Linked DNA regions of Homo sapiens: all the other regions are linked to region 2. Evidence: promoter capture Hi-C in 16 types of primary human blood cells and fetal thymus (Javierre and others, 2016). All regions are on one chromosome and are shown on one strand. Each heading gives the region's core, a stretch centred on a gene start or on the middle of the fragment in contact. The rest is flanking DNA. Distances are from core to core; before and after follow the strand shown.

Region 1 (2,700 bases), core at 112-2,611, 1.1 Mb after region 2:
GCTTTCTGAAGCTGGCATTTAGGGCCCCATGGCAAATCTCAGTGGGTTTCTCTTCCTGCCTAAGTGGACGTTGTCAGAATAAATTAAACTTCCCTGTCGGGAGCTCTCCTGAGCTCCCCCCTCAGATGGGTGGGGGGAAGACTGACACAGTCTCTTGGTCCTACACCCCAATCTCTCTGCTTGGCTGAAGAATGGCTGCCCGCACACAATCATATTCTGTCCTGCCTGGCCAGCTTTATGACTTGGCCACCATCAATCTTGCCCCTAACACGACATTTGTTTATGACGGGTGGGAAGGGCTAATGGCTTCATGAACTGTCCATGAAATGCCTGTAGTGGAGAAGGCCCTGCAATACCAGGCAGGCCCAAGGAGCAGGGGACTCGGAGCTAAGCTCTGAAGCAAATGGCCGGGGTTGGGGGAGGGGGGGGTGGCCTCGCAAATGAGAGCCCCTCTCACAGAGCTCTCAGAGGTGGGGCAGGAGTAGAGGGAAACTGTCACTCCAACTGGCCTTGCTTTGGGTGCCACTAACAGCCTCAGAGAACACTGGTGTGGGTGCCTGAGGCCTGATCAAGTATGGATACCTCTTGTCCCTCCTGGGCAATCTGTCCAGGCAGCCTCCACCTGCAGAGGGTTCAGAGTCTCTTGGGTTTTGCACCATTAAGAACAAAACTAATGACATTCCGCCTTAGAAACGGAGACCCCTGCCCTATGTCCTTTCCTCGCCTATCAAAGTTAGGGAGAGCCCAATAGGACTATAAGGCACTCTTGTTTCCTGACCCTTGTTTCTGACCCGGCAGGAAACAGCCAGGAGCTTACAGGCCACCAGTACAATCGAGCCCTATTCCTTTGCAAGCATCGATTATTAATGACACAAATTTTGTGGAATAATAAATTGTAAAATGCATGCTTGTTTGCACTCAGTCTGGAGAAAAAGGTCTGCTAACTACACAACCCTGGAGAAGTCAGCACCGGTCCCTCCCACACGTGCAACATGCCAAATGCAAGACTGCCTATGGCATGTGGCATGCTGGCATTTGTGTAGTCGTGGCATAAATTGCTATTAAAATAAATGTGCCCATTTCTGCATAAAGGACAAAATACTTACTCTCCTAAAGCTTTTTACAGAGGCTATTTTAAAAATTAGCTGATTCCCCGCCATGGATCTGGACTGCTGTCACAGGCTAATTTCAAAATGTACTGGCTATTAGTTAAACTATCAAGGAGTTTTTCTTAGAATATTTCACAGGAAAATTATCCTTATTCCTAAAACAGTACAAACCAAACGTGCAAACCTCTAAGGAATAAGTAGTGCCACGTTAAATAAGGTTGGCAGAAGTTGGTTTTCTTAAATCGGGTGTGAGAATCGAAAAGGTAATGTACTGATAGTAGGAGACATTACCTAGATGTGGTTTTTAAAATCCGAATAATGAGCAGAACTTCTCTCCTTCCACTCAACATAGCTTCTAAACTTGCACAGGCAACGAGTGCAGAAATGACTACGTCATGTATGTTTAACACAAACACCTTCTTAGACACATGTGTGTTTCATGCCTAATTTTCAAACATTCGAATAGAAGAGGGTAAAGCAAGTTGCTAAGAAGCTTTGCTCGCGCACGCCTATAAACACTCTCGACCTGTGGGCCAGGGGCTCCTCGCTGGCCACGGAAACCGAAGCACCGCGCTTCGCCCCGTACCCGCTTCCTCTCCTGCAGCTGGGACTGGAGCCCCGCAAGGAAGGACAGGGGCTGCTCTCGGCCCACTCCTCGGCAGGCCAGACTCGGCAGGGCCCCCAGCCGGGAGCGGGTCGACTCTTTCCCAGCTCGCTCCCGCCGCTGGGAACGGTGCAGAAAAGCCCGCCGAGCTTTCCACTGCCGACCTGGGCCTAGGCCGGGGCTGACTGCGGCCGCCACCTCCTCCGGGCCGCAAAGCCGAGACCCAAGGAGAGTGGAGAGTCGCAGGCACGTGGGCTCGGAACACGCTGAGCCTGCAGCTCGCCCGAGGGCTTCTGGCATCCTTGAGGCCGAGCGACTCCCCGCACGGCCACTGCCAAGCGACTGGTGGCCTCTGCAAACCTCACACACCGCGCGAGGACGCAGCCCTGCCGGGGAGGCCGCCTGGGGCCGCAGCGCCGGCCCGGGCAGGTCTGGTGCGGCCAGGCCGAGGCGGGTGGGCCGGGGGTGGCCCTGCAAACGCGCAGCTCCGGGTCCCGCGCCTGGAGGCTGCGGGCCGGCGCGGGGCGAGCTGTCACCCGTGAGCAATGAAGTGCCTCTGACCTTTCCACCCCAGCTGCGCTCCTAAACACACGTGCGTCTTCACAACAAAGGAGGCCAGCGAGGAGGAAGTGAGAGCTCGGCGGGGCCCTGCGGCGCCAGGCGGAGACGCGGGGTGACCGGGCGAGGGAGCGGGCTCCTCCGAGCTTCTCGGCCGGAGCCCCGAGGGCGCTTCTCCCGGCTCGGCGCCCCCCGCCCCGTCCCCGTCCCCGGCACCGCGCGCCTGCCACCCTCCCTCAGCGCGCGCTTCCCGGCACCCCGACCCAGCCCGCGAGGAACCCAGCGAAACTAACAGGGGTCTCCCTTTGACTCGCTTTTCTCCAACGACTAATTTCAGGAGGAGGCCGCGGAGGCCGGGGCTAATCTGGGGAGGGGGGTGTGGGGAGGAAGGAGCTCCAAACGCAAACCGAAGCCGGGCCCCGCGCCGCC
Region 2 (2,700 bases), core at 108-2,607:
AGGGCAAGGGGAACTCTGAACTACCTTTGCACCTTTTCTGTAGATGTAAAACTACTCTAAAAGGAAAAGTTTATTACAAAAAAATAAGCTAAGGAGCAGATTCTCCTGGCCTCTGGCTCACTCAAGCCTGTGGTTGGTTTGCTGGAGCCAACGAGATAGGAAGTCTGCTTTTGCGTGGTGGTGGTCCGGGTGGAGGATGTGGTTGGATCAGCAGCAGCCCACACACATCTTGCCTCTGGCAGGGCATTTGTTGCCTTATCAGTACTTCTACACAATTTAATTATACTAACAAAATTGGTAACCTCAAACCAGCTTAGTCTTTGTATAATACTTTTGTCAGATAATTTATCTCCACAAATTTATAGTTCCACTTCATTACTTTTGCTGAAGAACAAAGCTCTCCAATCTGAAAAATAACAAGCGTTTTGTGTTTTAAAAAAGATTTTGCTGTAATTCATTAATACTACATAAAATGGAAAAATATGTATTTTTATTTCACATGGAATGCATCGATCTGAATTAAAAATAAGGTTTTTTTTTTAAAAGAAGCAGAAGAGCAGCAGAGGCTGGTGTTAGAATGGGGCATAGAGGGGCTAACACAGGCTCCAAATAAGAGGTGACAATTGGCCAGGCCCTGAAAAATTGCAGGGTTTTCAAGACTGCAAAGTCCAGCCTCTGGGCAATCAAAGTTTTATGCCACTTCAGTGAATCTAGGGATGCACTACTGTGAGAGTCGGGCAGGTGGGTTGAAATTCCCCTTTCTTGGTCTGTGCAGAAAACTACGGATGAAGTCCTAGTGTTGCTTAAGGAGAATTTATGAAAAATTTATTCCTGTTTCCTGGATGCCTGTGCCTTTGACCTTTCCCTAGAGCTAGAAATGGTTGGAGACTTTGCAAACATCTTTAAGAACTGAGAAAAATAAAACAAACTTGCTAACTGCTTTCAGAAGATCTTCTATATTGCAGTTGGATATGCTCAAAGCGTAAGATGGGCAAACAGAGGTGGCTGTGGGGTTGCCACACCTGGCATTTTCCCTACTGGGGGAAATTTAATGAGCACTTAAATAATCCTGAGTCTGAAAGGGGCAGAAGGTCCAGGCAGATGATTGCCGAGGACAAATCTAGCTTTGTAAATCCGAGAGTATTGACACAATGATACGAGGGAAAGGTGAAGGTGATATTTCATCCAGTGTTCCCGGTTCATCCTCTCCTTACCTGACCTCTGAAATGGAGCCATTGGCCTTGAAAAGCCTGGTGTCTAAAATTAATATTCTTCCCCATCTGACTAAGAAGGCAACAGCTGAGCAACGTGAGATCAAGAGCCATATTAATTTAAACAGGGGCTGAAAGTGGCATTTGAGAGAGAAGATACTTCCTCTCGTAGTGGACACTTGTCTTTTCAGAAGATTTATACGACTGAGAGTCAAAACTTTTACCAGAGACTTTCATAGTCAGTTTGAATTCTGCAAAATTTCTCTTTATCTTCTGGAATGTATGCTCTAGACTTGGAGTGGCTCAAGCTCTTCGATGTGATCCTATCAATGGTAATTATCTTTGTTTATTGTTATAACCTCTCAAATCTCCTCCCCTTTTTTCTAAGTTACCTTCAATAACAAATTGTACCAAACTTCAGGTAGAGCTTAATGTTTAATATTTCTTTGCAAAATTATTGTATCTTAATCCTAAGCTTTTGTTTTAATACATTAATTTTGTGTGGCTTCCTGATCCAACTTGAGTTTCATCTGCAATTAACCATAGTATTTTAGTCGTAGTTTGCCTTAGAAATAGCCATGCATTTGTTTCCTTATTTTAATAATTTTTTCAGGGCAATTTGAAAGAATGCTAAGAATGATCTGTAATATATCTGTAGAGCTCTGGTTGATAGTATTAATATTTGCATTTTTATTTGTTTGAATGTAAGCTCTTTATGTGGATAAGTATAATTTGTTAGAGCAGTGAATTTTAAACACTTTGGAACTCAAGAGTATCATTTTACTATAGGAACTGACAAAACAAAATATTAAGTTTTCTGATGAGAATCACAATACGGTTTTTAAGCGGAGAAAATGCTCGAAGAGGCGCTTTTCGGAAAATCTCCACCAGGGGGCCTCAGTTGTCAGCCATGCGGAACTAGCACAAATTCAAATGTCTCTCCCTCTCCCTGCCTCTCTATGCAATCAAGTGATGTGTACATATAGACATGCGTATATGTCTCTAGTATCAAAGCGAATTATGTATGCTGCATTACTTCATTTGCGAGGAAAGTATTTTAAGGAGAGTGAAAAGACTCTGAACTTCTCGGTACATAGCTGTTAATGCAGATGCAAGGAAAGGTATCTGGGAGTGCTGTCCACGTGAGAAGACTGTAAGGAAATAAATTTCTTTTCACAAATAAACACCACACATTTTAAGGCATAGGTAGAGAAGAGTTCTGGAAAAGGACTCATTCGGGAGCGATCCCTCTGCAGAGGGAGGCCAGGGGAAGCAGAGAGACCCCTTCTGTGATAAGCCCTTCCCACGGGGCTGCAAAACCTGCGGTTCCAATTAAACCCAAAGATACTTTATAATTTACATCCAAGCTGGCCACTTGATCTACGGCTTGTTTTGTGCAATAAGGAGCATATTTCATCACCAGTGAATCTTGACATTGCTTCTTACTGTTTGCTTTTGTAGTTTTAAAGTGAAAAAATTTTTTTTCCTT
Region 3 (2,700 bases), core at 133-2,632, 1.2 Mb after region 2:
AGAGGTATATCAGGCTGTTCTTGCATTGCTATGAATAAAGAAAAGATGTTTAATTGGCTCATGGTTCTGCAGGCTGCAGAGGAAGATACACAGGTATCTGCTTCTGGGGAGGCCTCAGGAAGCTTCCAGTCATGGTAGAAGGTAAAGAGGGAGCAGATGTCTCACACGGTGGGAGCAGGAGCAGGGGGCGGGGAGGTGCCACACGCACTTTTAAACGACCGGATCTTGAGAGAACTCACTCACCGTCACGAGAATAGCACCAAAGGAATGGTGCTAAACCACGCATGAGATATCCTCTCCCGTGACTCAGGCCCCACCTCCAACAATGAGGATCACATTTCAACATGAGATTTGGGCGGGGACACAGATCCAAACCACCCAAACAGAGGCAATAAAGACTACCTAGTCTAACTGTCTTGACGCTGCCTGAACCCCCTTGGTGGAATGACAATTACATAAAAGCCTGAACTCATTCATTCTCCCACTCTCTTAAACTTATTATTCTTTCAAAGTTTAGTTTATTTGTTTGTTTGTTTGTTTGAGTAAACTATCATGGTGGAGAAAAGAAAGCTTAATTTCCTTGGGAACACTGTCTTGGAATGGGAAATCTTTTTGTTATATGGCATTGTAAAGCTTAAATCTTTCACATGTAAAAATTATGTAGCCCTCGTTTTTCATTTTCAGGGGAAGCATAAAGACTTCATGATCCATTTAGACTTAATTTAACCTGACATAAATAAATGCTGAAATGTTTCATTATGAGTTAAGTTGAAATATAGTCTAAATTTATTTTTTATATTCATTAATTTTAATTTTAATTTTTTTTGTTGTTGTTTTTGAGACAGAGTCTTGCTCTGTCGCCCAGGCTGGAGTGCAGTGGTGTGATCTTGGCTCATTGCAACCTCTGCCTCCTGGGTTCAAGCAATTCTCCTGCCTCAGCCTCCTGAGTAGTTGGGATTACGGGCGTGCACCATCACACCTGGCTAATTTTTGTATTTTTAGTAGATACAGGGTTTCCCATGTTGGCCAAGCTGGTCTCGAACTCCTGACCTCAAGTGCTCCGCCCACCTCTGCCTCCCAAAGTGCTGGGATTACAGGTGAGCCACCGCACCTGGCCTATAGTCTCAATTGATAAGTTAATTGTAAAACTCTGGGAATAACTCACTGTAGAAAGGTCTTCAGTATGAACTAAATTTTAAAAACTCTTTTATCTGAGCACATTGGTGTTATTTGGCTTTGCAACCATCATTCTTATTTCTCATTTACTGACTGTCGATTACATACAGGTCTAAGGGAAGAATAATGTGCCTGATTAATTAATTAAAGGCAGTTATTAAAAGAAAACAATATAATGCCAAGCATAATGGTGCCGGGTTGGACCCCTGGGCTCCTTTACCTCGGGCCCAGTAACTATCATCTATAAGCCTCAGTGTACTCAGGTGGAAAATGGAGGCAATTTCAGTCCCTACCTTCCACAAAGCTGTGAGAGATTCCATGTAATAATACATTCCTGGCACATAGAATATGCTCTACATGTACTAGCTCTTATTCATTCCTGGGATCCCTGTGTGTATTATAACGATAATATGGGCTGGGTATGGTGGCTCATGCCTGTAATTCCAGGACTTTGGGAGGCCAAGGCAAGAGGATAGCTTGAGATCAGGAGGTTGAGGCTGCAGTGAGCTAGGATTGATGCCACTGCACTCCGGCCTGGGCAACAGAGTGAGACCCTGCCACAAACAAACAAACAAACAAACAAACAAACAATCAAACAAAAAAAAGATAATACAGGCACCATGCAGCAGCTATAGAGAATGTGGAAGACACGGCCCAGGCTTCTGGTTATCATCTGAGTTGAAGAGCAAGAGCTCACTCTGCACGGCACTTGCTATGTCTGAGGTCATGTGTGACGAGGTGAGAAACTGCGTCCTGAGCGGCCTCCAGCACCAATCAGCCACACCAAGCCTGCAAGTCCCTGAAAGGAGACTTTTGTTTAAAATGAAATTCCACATGTTTCAGGGCAGGAAATTGAAATAGTGTCTCTGAAAATGATGAAAAGAAGGGATTTTAAACATGCACATATGTACATACTTTAGGTAGCAGTAAAGATACTTTTAGTCACAGAAGCTTACCAAATTTTAAGGACTGCAACATTTTTTAAAGGAGGATACCAAAAATGTGTCTGGACCTCTCCCTTTAAGTAAACGTAATTGGGAGCACCTCTTCTGGCTGAATGTGACCTTCGCATACAATTTTGTTTGCCTTTCCAACGGTTCTCAGCGTTTGTCTTTCTTAACTGCAGGAGGAGTAGGAAGCTATTGTCATTCTAGATGCCCATCGTTTGTTTTTCCAACGTCTTGTAAGAGAGAATATACTTCAGGATGGTTAATACTTACGATGTTCCCGGTTTGTAGGCTCCATCAGCTTTGCCATGTAGGTGGGGACTTCTTTTGGGAATTCTCAACATTGACCCAGTGGCCAATAATAGATATGCTGAGCATGTCTACAAATGCAGCTTTTATCATTTATGGCCAGAATATGTTTACGTTCTTTTAATATCTGGTTGATTCCTAGTGAAAAGCATTTTATGCATATGTGAATGCAAAACATAACAAAAAAGTGTATAATGCAATCCACTCATTAAAAGAAAGCCCAGCTGAAGTAAGAACAGGAACAGGTCTATGTCCTTGGCAAGTTTGC

What was found. Contacts are between HindIII fragments. The CHiCAGO score rates a contact against its expected background, and 5 or more counts as called.
Region 1: a fragment that was not itself captured here is called in contact with the fragment with the promoter of MYLK4 in region 2 in 6 of 17 cell types (naive B cells, M1 macrophages, total B cells and 3 more); the score reaches 9.4 in naive B cells.
Region 3: a fragment that was not itself captured here is called in contact with the fragment with the promoter of MYLK4 in region 2 in 2 of 17 cell types (total CD4 T cells and non-activated CD4 T cells); the score reaches 6.8 in total CD4 T cells.

What each region holds. Positions count from the first base shown.
Region 1 is chr6:1,614,541-1,617,240 of GRCh38, reverse strand. No RefSeq gene overlaps it. Among named protein-coding and RNA genes, the nearest start is that of FOXC1, 6.0 kb to the right of the region's middle. RefSeq lists an enhancer at 2,380-2,700. The HindIII fragment of the contact is 486 bases long and covers 1,119-1,604 here.
Region 2 is chr6:2,749,579-2,752,278 of GRCh38, reverse strand. MYLK4 (myosin light chain kinase family member 4) reads left to right here and starts at 1,357. Exons shown (of 13, transcript NM_001012418.5): 1 at 1,357-1,543. The HindIII fragment of the contact is 6,360 bases long and covers 1-1,688 here.
Region 3 is chr6:1,556,156-1,558,855 of GRCh38, reverse strand. No RefSeq gene overlaps it. Among named protein-coding and RNA genes, the nearest start is that of FOXCUT, 48 kb to the left of the region's middle. The HindIII fragment of the contact is 1,494 bases long and covers 636-2,129 here.